2 separate regions of the Homo sapiens genome follow, and region 1 is linked to region 2. The links are contacts of gene promoters, found by promoter capture Hi-C in human tissues and cell types (Jung and others, 2019). All regions are on one chromosome and are shown on one strand. The core of a region is centred on a gene start or on the middle of the fragment in contact, and the rest is flanking DNA. Distances in the headings are between cores, read along the strand shown.

Region 1 (6,342 bases), core at 132-2,631, 1.2 Mb before region 2:
CTGCAAAGCCTCAACCTCCCTGCTCCACACTGTCAGCTTCCCAGATTCTCAGGCCTTTAGACTGGGACTGAATTACAGCCCCAGCTTTCCTGGTTCTCCAGCTTGCACATGCTAGGTCCTGGGACTACTCAGCCTCCAGAATCATGTGAGCCAATTCCTCATAATAAACCTCCTTTTATATCCATATAGAATGTGTACATCTCCTGCTGGTTCTGTTTCTCTGGAGGACCCTGACTAATACAGTGATGAACACAATTTTTCTCCTCATTGGTTTTCAGGTGATTGAGATCATCTTGCTCACTGATCAGATCATCTCAAATCTACCAGGAGCGCTTGGCCAACCTTCCATGGGTTTCTCACATTCTCTGAACTTCTGTTTCCTCAGAGGGAAAATAGAGACAATCTTCAGATCACCGAGTTGATGTGAGGAGTGAGTAAGATAATAAATATGTAGGTATCTGACACAAAGGCTGACACAGAAGGAGCGCACTAGGATTTCACAGTATAATAATAGAGTGTGAATTTCAGCTCCAAACTGTCTTACTCTTTCTATTCTACGAAATGCCTGCCATTCGCTCTCTAGGCATTTGCTGAGCATTTGGTCCCTGAATGGAGAACCCGACGAGGACATCAATTCTGCTTCTGTGACCAGCTGCTGCGGAGGGTTTCCACTCTGTTCCCTAGCAGCCATCAGGTCTAAAAAGGATTGCAGATAGTTCTTGGCAAGACTTGACTAACTGGAAGTGGTGGAGACCCCAACCTACAAAACATGTAAAGAGATGGAAAAAATAGAGGCCAATTCTCCTACAGAAAGAGGACTCCAGGGAAAATCACTAAGCAGCTTCCATAGGAATCGTAGTGATCATCTGCTATGGAGTCACTGCTTGGTGCCAGGAGTTGCAGCAGGGGCCTCATACACATTTCCTGGAATCTCCCCAGCAACGCTGGAAGTCTGGTTTTATAATCGGCACCTTACAGAACTGGAGACTGAGGACCAGAGAGGACAGGACCCTGTCCATCTACAAAGCTCCATCCTCCCTACTCTACCCATGCCCTCCCCTGAGAGCTGAATTGCTGTTAAGAAATAAAAAGAGGCCTGTTCTTTCTGTGTCGGAGGTATATTGCTAGGAACAATGGGTGGAAGTCACAGGACGACAGATCTCAGCTCCACATCAGGAGGAGCTCTGTAACTCCGGGGTGTTCCCAGACAGAAGGCTCTGCCTCCCAAGATGAAATTTCCCCTTGCTGGAGATACTTGAGCTTTGTTTGGAAGACAGAGTTTGGAAAGGAGACTTGAGACCGAAAGAACACCTGTACCAGATAGCTTTGAAGGTTCCCTCTACCCCTGCTAAAATTTGTTGCCTGGGAAATAATAATTTCCCAAATTCAGGGGAGAGAGAGTTACTTTTGCTTCTTCCTCTTGTTCCTCCAGTGACTGAACAAAATGCCCTAGGGAAGAGCTTCCCCCAAGTCCACCTCTAACACAGCCCATAAGTTGAAGGATGATTAGCTCCGGAGATTGAAATAAGCCCTGAAACTGATTCCAACTTCTTAGAATAGGTGTGATTTTAGCTTGGAAGTGTCCTAAGTCATCAGTCTCAAGAGCAGTACCACTTGGCAGGCTCTTTAATCCCTACAGTCATGCATTGGGGAGTATTAATTCAATATCTCCCCAAAGCTTAGCAAAATAAAATGAAACATAAACTGTAAAATAACACAACTTTCTTGCATACAAAGCTTTAAAAAGAAAGCCAGCAAAAGTGTTTTAAACAACTCACAGAGTCCACATTGTATTGTGGAATTCTTTTTAATGAAGCTGTTATTATGCTACAAGAATGCAATAAAACATCTGAAACCTGAAATTTCCTATTTTTATCACCTCCTGTAAAATTTTCAAAAGGGCCAAAATGATTTGTTTCAAAATGCGTATAGGAATAATTGGATTGAGAGTTTTCATGCCAACTTTCCATTTGGAATGAAATCTAGAGACTGTTACTTCATAAACCAATGAAAATATGAGCATAAAATGAAAAGGGCAAAATATTATAGAATATAAGTATAATCAAACATAACATACCCGGGAAGGAACTACTGATTTACCATCTCCCAGTGTGTGGCTCAGCACAGGGACCTCTTTTATATAACAAAGTGCTCACAAATAATTGGTTTTACCTGAATCCCCTAATTACTTCTGGAAAAAGAAATGCTATATGCATGAATTTCTGCACACAAACACATAATGTGAAGTGCTGATCCCACACTGGTTAATTTTGAAACAAAATATTATTCTGAATTGTTCATGAAGATGATATGCCTGCTCCCTTAATCTTCTGTTTGCAACACAAATCTCAGCTAATCCTTAGTACAAACTGGCAAAAATCTAATCCTTGGCTGCTAAGCAAATGCATTTTAGCAACAAATTGTGTATGAGAAGTTTATTTAAGATGTGATTTCTTGTAACTGTTCTTGCCAAATGACCAGATAGTAATCATACCCTCAAATGTGTAAGTATACAGGAAGATATTACTTATTTTATGATTTTAGATTTAATTTTCAACTCACATCATTCTTAAAGCCATTCTTAAAGATTGGTCACTTAGGGAATGGACAAAGTCTCTCCTCCTTTGCAAATCAAGTTTCTGTGTTCAGTGGAAACCTTTTCCAAAGCATTCATCTCTGTCAGCATACCCAGTGCATGCTCTGTCATGAACAGCTCCCAGCATTAAGTGGAGCAATTCCGTCTACCATCTGGCTTTGTGAGCAAAAAGCTTTTTTTATATAAAAATATGAAACTAAGCTACCCCCGTCTAGACTTACAATCTTTCCAAGGACATTGTCCATCTCCCCATTCATTCCAAATGGATGAAATTTTAGATGGAACAGTAATAAGAGGTGAAAGGTTTGGAATCTTATTTAATATGTTTACTTGAATTGTTTCTAAAGAACATAGGAGTTGGGATCACTTTTTTAAAAGTACCACTGTCCCTCAGAAGCTACTCAATATTTGCTTTTACTATGTGACAATTGAGCACATTTTCAAAAATACAGTAGGAAACACTGTGTAACAGAAGCAACATGGATCTTATTTAGCTGTTGCAGATGTTGGTGGTTAAAACTACCCGACTTTCACTGGTTGATCTGGAATTAGATCTCCTATCCTTTGGTAACAGTTCTAACCACATAAGTTTATACTAACACTCTGGATAAAATCACAGTTGGAAAAAAATAAACCTAAAAAGTCACTAAAACAAGAATGAGTCTGAGCTCTCTTTCATTGTTCTTTTAACTCAACCTATTTGCTGCATGTGCAAGGTTGAGTTTGTGTTTCAGTCATGGAGTTGGTTTTGTTCTCCATTTTTCTTCAGCACCCACCCAGGACAAAGTACGCTGTATGCCGGCAAGTGTGGTCAAGACCATATAACCTGAGTTCTTCCTGCTCTTGCTGCTGTGAAAATTTTAAACTGATTTTTTAACACTTAAACTGCATGAAAACACTTTCTTTTAAAAAACAGTATTGTTTTTGTTTTAAGAAAATTAAATGGAAATCCATTAGGGGAGCAAGGAATATTCTCATCTCAACCGGGTAAAAACCCACAGAAACTGAGGCCACCGAGATGCCAACTTATCAGTGCAGAAATAAGCTTAGAATCTGAAGGATAAGATGTAATTCTGCATAAAACTAAGCTTCAGTACAAGAATATCCTGTTTCAGACCTAGTTGCACTGATCATCAATCAGTGTTGCCTACATGATCATGGTAAACCCAAAGTATGAGCAATACAACACGTTTGAGTTGTCTGGCTTAATGTCCTTCGGCCAGAAAGCTGCGGGTTCTGACCTCCAGCTCCAGATCCTCCAGCTAGAAGAGCAGCCCTGGAGAATAAGCAAATGCACGCATGTTGGGGCCAGATTGCTAGGGTGGAAGCCGCACCCCTTGCTTACTTGTTAAGTGACTTTGAGCAAGTTACCTAACTTCTCTTCTGTCTCAGTTTATCAGCACAGTGAATGTTACAATAGCACCTACCTCATAATGTCATAGGGAGGATTTAATGAGTTAACATTTTACATATTAAAAAAAAAAAAAAAAAGAATGAAGGCCTTTCTTTCAGCCCCAGATCTGTACTACTGCCATTTGGGGAAGAAGAATTTTCCTAGGACTCATGAAATACAAATTTTAAAAAGCTGTGTCCAACAAGAGCTGGAGTTACAGTATCACACACCATTTCCACCTCCTGAAGTGCTCCGTGCTCTCTGTCACACTTCTCATTCTGCTCTTTAACATCCCAGTATTATGAAAATCCACCCAGTTCCTTACAAAACTACCTCTCACCCTCCTTCCAGCAGCTCAGAGTTAAACTTGCAGAGGTTTAACAGTGGAAAGGAGAAAGAGCTGACAATTCGTTTATTTTTATGATGCCTTCCTATCAATGTGAACATTTGATTTTAGCCCAAGGCCACATGAGTCAGGGCAAAATTTTTAGCAGCAGAAAGGTCTTCCCAGGCCTCTGCATATCACAGCAGCTCACCTCATCCCTCTTAAGACCGTTTCCAGTCTCAGAAATACAAGCTAAACCCTAATATTGTACTATATTTTTTTTAGTACAGCATGTTGATTTCACTCAAAAGGGCAATCACCGTGACTAATATCAATCTTACAGTATCAACTTCATTTACATCACACCTCAGGTATAATGAGAAATGATTTTATTTTTCATTAACTATATTTTTATGTATAATAATAGAAAATACCTAAAAGGCTTGACTGTACACATTATGAAATTCTATTGATACACTATAGTTGTAATTTCTTATGTATGTAATAATCAAATAATAAAGAATAAGTATCTCAAGATTGGGGACTATCTGTTGTGGTTAAAATAAAAGTTTAACCTCCTTCAAATAATAAGTAGATGTCTTCTCTCATTTTATATCTGTTCAGCCCCTATGAGAGCGCGTGTAGCTGTAGCTCTTGGAACCAACAAGCAAATGGGTGATTTGCCTTACTTACCACTAGGGGGGGTGAAAGCTAAGTTAGTGACCCGGGCTGCAGGAGTCCAAGGAAGAGAGAGAAGTGGGGGAAAGGCAATGAACATAACGCCAAATAAAGGGAAAAAGAAGAGGAGCGGCAATGCGGGAAGGAAGGGGGAGGAGATTTGCTGGACTCAGGGATGTTTAGGGGTCCGTCATCAATTTCTTCAGATCCCTCATTAGATGGCCCCATAAGTAATGGCAGCTTGGTGGGAGCCTGCCAAGGGCAAGGGACCTTCTGCTTCCTCTGTCATCTCCTCACCTCTGCAGTGAGTGCAGTGAAAAGTCCCAGGTTCCTGTTGAGAACTGGGATTTTTGAGGACTTATCGCCTTTGACCTGTAACCTACTGATAAAGTGCTTGGTTTCATTTTGTTTTCTTGCTTAAAATCTCCTATAATCTCAGTGAGATAAAATGGCGGGGGGGAGGGGATACTGGGCTAGGAAGAGGGAGTGTTGTGTGGGTGCAAATCAAGCCGCAGCGCCCAGCCTCAGTAGAAATCAGCATTGCACCTCCATGCTTAAAAACAATATATCTTCTTCCAAAAGTCATGTCACAGTCCACGTTTCCCAGAAATAGTGGCAAAAGTCCCTGTTGAAATGGATTGTTCATTGTCTGGTTTGAGACACTGACAAGAATAAACCTGCTGAGGCCAGCTGGGCTTTTGTCACTTTGGTTAAAAGCAACATTATTCCAGTGGGAAGGGATCCCGGGAGGAGGAAGGAAGGAGACCAGGAGGAAGGCCACTGGGGCAGAAGGACTGGCCTCCTGGAAGAGTCAGCCACCCAAATTACCAAGTTCAAGGGGCCATCTGATCCACACCAGGGGCCCAGAACTTTTCTCCATGGGAGTCTTTTGTGCCAAGCGAGTCTGAACTCTCCCCTGAAGACAATGGGAAACCTCTGACAATTTTTAATCAGGCAACTGATATTATTATAAAACAGCCATGTCTTCATGCTATCTTACCATTCTAATTCCTAGCATAGCATCTATCCATTCATTCGCTTGTTTTAAATGCCTGTCTTCCGGCTAAAATGTAAGTTCTGTGAGAGCAGGAACTTTGACTGTATTGTTCATCACAGATGCCTAGAAAATAACCTAGGTGGGACACTGCAAACGTTCCATAAATATTTTTCGATGAATAAAGATTCATATTTTAGAAAGCTTCCTCTGGTAGCTTTGTAAGAGCTGTGGATAATGGACTGAGGTAGGGGGGCGGGGTGGAAAGAGAGAGCAGAATTAGACACCAAGGCAAAAAGTAGGGAACATGCACGAATTTAACGCATGTCCACTTCCAAACAGGTTGTGATATTGGT
Region 2 (6,266 bases), core at 3,072-5,571:
AAAAGAAAAAGGAAAGTGAGACAAGTTGCCAGCATGGCTACACAGAGAAATTCCAGTTTCCCCAAAACTGGAAAAGAATAGCATTTTATATGAGGACAGTGTGCTTAATACATAACAAAGATAGCTGCTATATATTAGAAATTATGTTTGTTATTCCTTAAGCAGTTATTTTTAATCTTGATAGTTTATTCTGGTTAGATATATAACAAGAATATAACTCTAGTCTCTTCTTGCAAAAAAAAAAAAAAATTCCAATGAGCAAGATGATTAATCCAGTAAAGAAACATGTCCAGCCTGGGGACAAAAAAAAAGTAGATCAAATTTTGGTTAGGAAGATTAACCAAGTAAAAATCCATTAGCTGGAATTTATTGTAAAAGCCAATAAGAAATCATCCAAGAAATAAAAAACTAAAAATAGCCCTCAATATGGAATAAAAAAAGACATAGAGTGATTCTCTTTGCATTCAATAGAGACTGAGAAAACACAACTGTCAGAATATTAAATATTGCTTTGGAAAGTTTGGAAATATGATGAAAGTAAATTAGACAATTGCTAGAAAAATATCCTTCAGTTGGTTCCCCACACATCACAAAATTCAGCTTGATACCATTTTCTTTTTCTTGACAAATTTAGGGCTTTTATTAGTGCTATGACAGAAAGAAGGAATGCTACCAAAAAGACCATTTGAATTTACTTTAATTATTTCAGAGTAGGGAAACGATAATTGGAAAGTAGTTTATAACCTTGAGTTTGTAAAATCTGTAAACTCTCACAACGATGTGAAGGCAGAGAAAGTATCAAACTCAGTCCCCTATAATAAGCTCATTACTTCATAAAATATATATCCCCTTCATCTATGTGTCAGAAATGTTTAAAATTTTCACCACTGGTACATTATTTTTGGGCCTTACATTTTTGTGGATTTGGTGAATACCTGAAAGAAATAAAATAGGATTGGATAATGTGAATTTCTTTTACACTCATTGTCATTATTAGAAAATAAAGCCCAAATAAAATATGACAGAGCAGAATTAGTTTTAATACAGGAAAAATTTGCAAGTTGAAGAGGAGAAAATGCAGCCAGGAACTAACGGTACACACCTAGGTGGTTAAGACAGTGTGGATGGTGATAAGAGAACATAAGGAAAATTCTGCCCTCCAGCTACTTTGAATTTAGTGTTCTGCCTAGTATGAATATTATTGAACCCTATGGTATGGTACTTAACTATCTAATGAGATGATAACTCTCTCCTACCTGTAGAAAATGTAGATGCCTTGTCTACTTCTGCTTATATACATGCTGAAACATACTGATGTCTGCTGTCTTCTTAATTTTACACTAATTTTTAAAGTAAAGATTGATTTGATAAAAAATATGCACTTGGAAAAATTATTCTGCTATTCCCACATTTCATGTTCATGTCTATTTACAGCTAACAAGACTAGCACGCAAATAGATATATGCTCCAAGATCTCGCTTCTTTTCATGTCTGGCTTCTCCCTGTTTACCCACAATTATTTTCATAATATTTTACTGTGATTCCACAAACCAGAGACAAATCTCTGAAGGGAATAGTGTTCCAAGGCATGGCCATCATTAGAAGACAATAAGCTTGTTTTCCTTCCAACATTCTTAGCTTTGTTGAAGGCTAAGTGGAAGAAATTAACATACTGCATGCCTTTCAATGAAAATTGTTTCTAATTATTTTGCTTCTCAAATTATTCCACCAGGCATTGATTAGACTTTTTAAATTCATTTCATATCTGTCACTCTCAGCTAACATTTGTAATTTTTTAATTGTTGTTAAAGAGAATCTATTAATTGAAATATAATTATCCTCTTTAATAAAAGTAAATAAAATTACTTGGGTAGCCAACATATTCAAGTAATCATCAATCTTGGTCAGAAATTAAAAGTAAGATGAGCATCTAAACTTGGCACTCAAAGACTGACCATCTGCACCTTTGAGGCAAAATAAAATTCAGTTTAGGAAAACCTTATGAAAATCAATGTTTTAATTATGCTATCAAGGGCTGTGGTAGGCAGAAACTTCTTTGCTCCACCCCCCAAAAATGTCCAGTTCTTAATCCTGAAAACCTGTGGAATCTTGTGTAACAAAGGGACTTCATAGATGTAATTAATGTTAACGACCGGGAGGTGGAGAGTGACCTCGGTTATCCTGGTGGGTCCAAGGTAGTCACAGGCATCTTTATAATCAGTGAAGGTCTCCCTGCTGTGCTTAGAGAGGGGGATGCTGGAAGAAGAGTGGTCAGAGAAGCAACATTGCTGACTCTAAAGACAGAGGGCAGGCCACGAGCCAAGGCATGCAGGAGGCCTCCAGAAGCTGGGGCAGGCAAGAGAATGGACTCAGCCCTGGAGCCTCCAGAAGGCATGCAGCCCTGCCCATTCCTTGCTTTTAGCCAGGTAAGATGTCTGTCAGCCTGATGAGAACTATGAAATAATGAATGTGCTTGTTTTTTTCACCACTAAATTTGTGCTTATTTGTTATAGCAGTGATAGAAAACTAAGACAAGGCTATATCTTGGCATGTCAGATTTTAAGTTATCTGCTATAGTGTAGAAAAGCCCAGAGAAGGAGCTGCAATTTGTCTCTTTGAAAAAAAAAAAAAAAAAAGGATCACCTTCTAGGGGATTAAACATTAATGGGCTGGGTGTTGTGGCTGACACCTGTAATCCTAGCACTTGGGGAGGCCGAGGCGCTGCTGCACTCCAGCCTGGGCAACATAGTGAGACCCTGTCTCCAGAAAAAAAAAAAAAAAAGAAAAAGAATTAAACGTTGACAGATTATTAAGTGAGGCACTGTGTGAGACCTAGCTTGGGTTTGCGCCTATAGATATTTAAAAGTTGATCCAGGTTTTCACTTGAAAGCAGAACTACTGCCTTAAATTCCCACTTCACAAAAATAAATCATGGATTGAGGGAAAAATTTACTTGTTTGCTTTATAAAAAGAGATATCGATCTCTTCATAAGTTATATATGTTTTACAAGGTTGCACTGTTTGAACTGTAAGTGTGAATGGTTGCTAACACTCCAGAAACCAAGAGGTACATTTTAACTGGAAAAATTTTCTTCCTGTATCTTACAAATTAATTGAAGTTTGTCTACGCTTGAAAATATGTCAAAAGTATTATGTAGCTTTACCACAGTTTTATCTAACTTCTAGAAGAATTTAAATTCATATAAAGATAAAGAGTAACATACCAATAGAGTTTAGAGAGTTTTCAGATTTGCTCAGAAGAATGCTCCTTTGAAAACCTATGAAGTAGATTTTACCCAATGTATATCTGGATCTAAAAATTAAAGAAAATATCAGTCGTGTTCAGATTCCTTTATACCCTGCAGAAGAGAGAAAGAATAAGCAACATCAATGGAGCATATAACATGTATGGTTTAGCACTTTCATATTTTTAATCTTAACTATTCAGCCAAATACGTCTTATTTTTTTATTTTTATAGATGAAGATATTGAGGTTTGCATTTTTTTTTTATAAATTGCTCAGTCATACAGTTGGTAAATAGCTGACAGGAGAGTTCACTCCAGGTCTTACTGGCTCTCAAACCTTTGCTTTTTAAAAATCTCCAAACTAGCGCCTCTCCCTTTTAACTGCAAAATAAGCACAAAGTTATCCCAGTTCTACACAGTGCTAAACAAATTCCTGTGAGCAAACAATTAGCACAGGCAGATGGAGTGAGGGGGAGGTGGTTTATAACAATGGAAAGCTGTCTGCCTGCTGTGGATTAAAGATTCAAACTCTTTGATCCTCCTCCCAGGGATAGGTGAGGGCCTATGTCTCCTCCTCATTAACATGAGTGATCCTTGGCTAGGTTCTCCTTTGACTGACAGAATATGGGAGAAAGTAAGGCTGAACCATATACTGGGCTCAGGCTTCCAACCCTGACATGTTCCACTTCCTGTCTCCAGGAACATTCACCCTGGGAGCTCTGTGCTGCCATGCAAATGTCACATTGCACTGAGGCCGCCATGCTGTAAAAAACCCCAAGCTACCTACCTGAAAAGCTGGAGAGAATCAGCACCCATCAGCTTTTCCAGCATTTTGGGTCCTCCCAGCTAAATCATCGGCATTGTGAAGCAGAGATGAGACCTCCTGCCATGCCCTTTCCAAATCCTGGACCAACAGAATCATCATATACACTAGTAAGCTTTTACTTTAAGCCACTAATTTGGGGTGTAGCTCTTTTGCAGCAAAAGATCATCAGAACACTGCCATGCAGGAGCTGATAAACTTGCTCACTGTTATGTATGTATCCAATGACTACTCACACACACATTACTTGCTTCACTCTACTTTCTGGCTTTCCATTCAGCAAATTTTAAGAAATGAAAATGTTATTCGTGGGAAATTAACTCAAGATCAATATTGTTGTAGTTAATCTCTTTGTAAATGGTAAAATATTAAATTATTGTGAGTCATTTTTATTTAAAGAAGTTTGGTTCTTTAAATGAAAGAAGTTTGGGTCTTTTGTGGATACTCTGCATATAGACATTCTAGACATGAAAGAATGTTGAAGACAAAGAATGTTGAAGAAATATAGACATGAAAGACTGTTGAAGTTTGGTTTTTTGTGGATACTCTGCATATAGACATTCTAGACTGGAGTGATACATCTTGTTCAGGTTTCTATGTTTTTAAAATGATAACTTGACACGCCTACCAATGCCAATTTTTAGGATATATATTTGTATATCTGTGTGAACTAAGGAAAATTCAGGAATGATTAAACCTACATATTTTGCCAGGAGAGACTGGATAATGTAAGTCTTTATATTTTTCACAACTTCAAGTTTATAGCATCCAAATGAGCAATTGCTGACATACCTAGGGGATTTCTCTGCAGGTTCAAGTCTGATCTGGCCTGAGGGCAACACTCTTACTGAGTGTGTTCCTAGGCACTCCTTGGCAGTTGGCTCCAGGCCACAATAAAGAGCCCTGATGATTCTCTGAGCAGGCCCAACTTCCATTCACATTCATGGGAATATGAGGATGACTTGTGATCTTCAGGACTTAGATAGACTCTTTCAGTTGGTGTAGGGTAAGCTCAGCTCATCTCTAGAGACTTCCCACAGTGGAGCTCATGCATGACTCTGTGCAGGTGGCACAGGACAGCCAGAGACAGGCACCTAAGGAGTGCACTACCAGCAGGTGGACTCTCCACTGAGGGAGGTAGACAAGGGAGAAAGCCAGGTGTCCACATGGAGCAGGCCTTACTCAGGGAGACTGAGATTTTGCTCTACACATCATAAAACGTGGAGGTCATTAATGGAATTTTTCACAGGACATGACTGCCATAGCCATGATAGGGTCCCTGGCTAATCTTTCAATTATGATAGCATCATAAGATAATTTTGAATATGAGGAGAGAAGAATAACTCTAGAACTGCAATATCCAATATGGTAACCCCTAGCAACCTAAGGCTACTTAAACTAATTAAAATTAAAACTTTAGTTCCTCAGTGCCACTAGCCATATTTCAAGTACTCAATAACCACACACACTTGGCTACCATGTTGGACAGCACTGACATAGACCATTTCCATTACTGCAGAAAGTCCTCCTATTTGACAGTCCACCTCTGGAACCAATCCGGAGTCTTTAGGGACCTAAAAGACTGAGGTGCTAAATCTCAGAGCAGTACTCTGCTTAATGCTTAGTTAAAAGACTTGCTAATCTATATAGTTGATCTAGAGAACTTTAAAGGCAGCTAGTTCGTAGCAACTATGTTGCTGGACCTTGAAACTGTATGTCAGGAACTTGGTGTTCTAGTGGTGACTTCTCTTTTATCTACCATGTTCACACTTTTCCTACCACTCATTTATCCATTCAGAAAGTATTTCAGAAGTCCCTATGATTTACCAGGTGCTATTTCAGACACTGAGGCACTGTGGGGAACAAAACAAACAAAGTCTCCTTTCTCAGGGATCTCACATTCCATGTGGTGATGCAGACTGTAAAAATTCACACACAGAAGATACTTTCATACAGTAGGAAGTTTTATGAAGAATATTTCAAAAGGGGTGTGGGGTGGGAGAGGTTGATGTTCAGGTGTTTGCTTGAGAATGAACTGTTCATACAAAGAATCAATAATTCATTTGTTCCACAAATATTTATTGAGTACCTGTTATTAGCAGGCTACTTTATTAGGTTGCCAGAGCAGGGTTTTCTTAGCACAATTAAAACACAATAACATTTGTTAGAAATTCAAAGACCCATGTCCACTCTTGCA

The links. Contacts are between HindIII fragments. The study calls those that stand out against the background at their distance.
Region 1: a contact is called between a fragment that was not itself captured here and the fragment with the promoter of DAOA in region 2, in 1 of the 25 tissues and cell types used here (lymphoblastoid cells).

What each region holds. Positions count from the first base shown.
Region 1 is chr13:106,618,806-106,625,147 of GRCh38, reverse strand. The region is part of intron 1 of ARGLU1-DT (ARGLU1 divergent transcript); the gene reads right to left. Among named protein-coding and RNA genes, the nearest start is that of ARGLU1-DT, 4.2 kb to the right of the region's middle. The HindIII fragment of the contact is 4,564 bases long and covers 1-3,663 here.
Region 2 is chr13:105,464,100-105,470,365 of GRCh38, reverse strand. It overlaps DAOA (D-amino acid oxidase activator), which reads right to left and starts at 4,321. Exons shown (of 6, transcript NM_172370.5): 1 at 4,306-4,321; 2 at 4,034-4,150; 3 at 3,225-3,313. The coding sequence starts at 4,077. DAOA-AS1 (DAOA antisense RNA 1) reads left to right here. Exons shown (of 7, transcript NR_040247.1): 5 at 3,946-4,179. The HindIII fragment of the contact is 13,308 bases long and covers 2,900-6,266 here.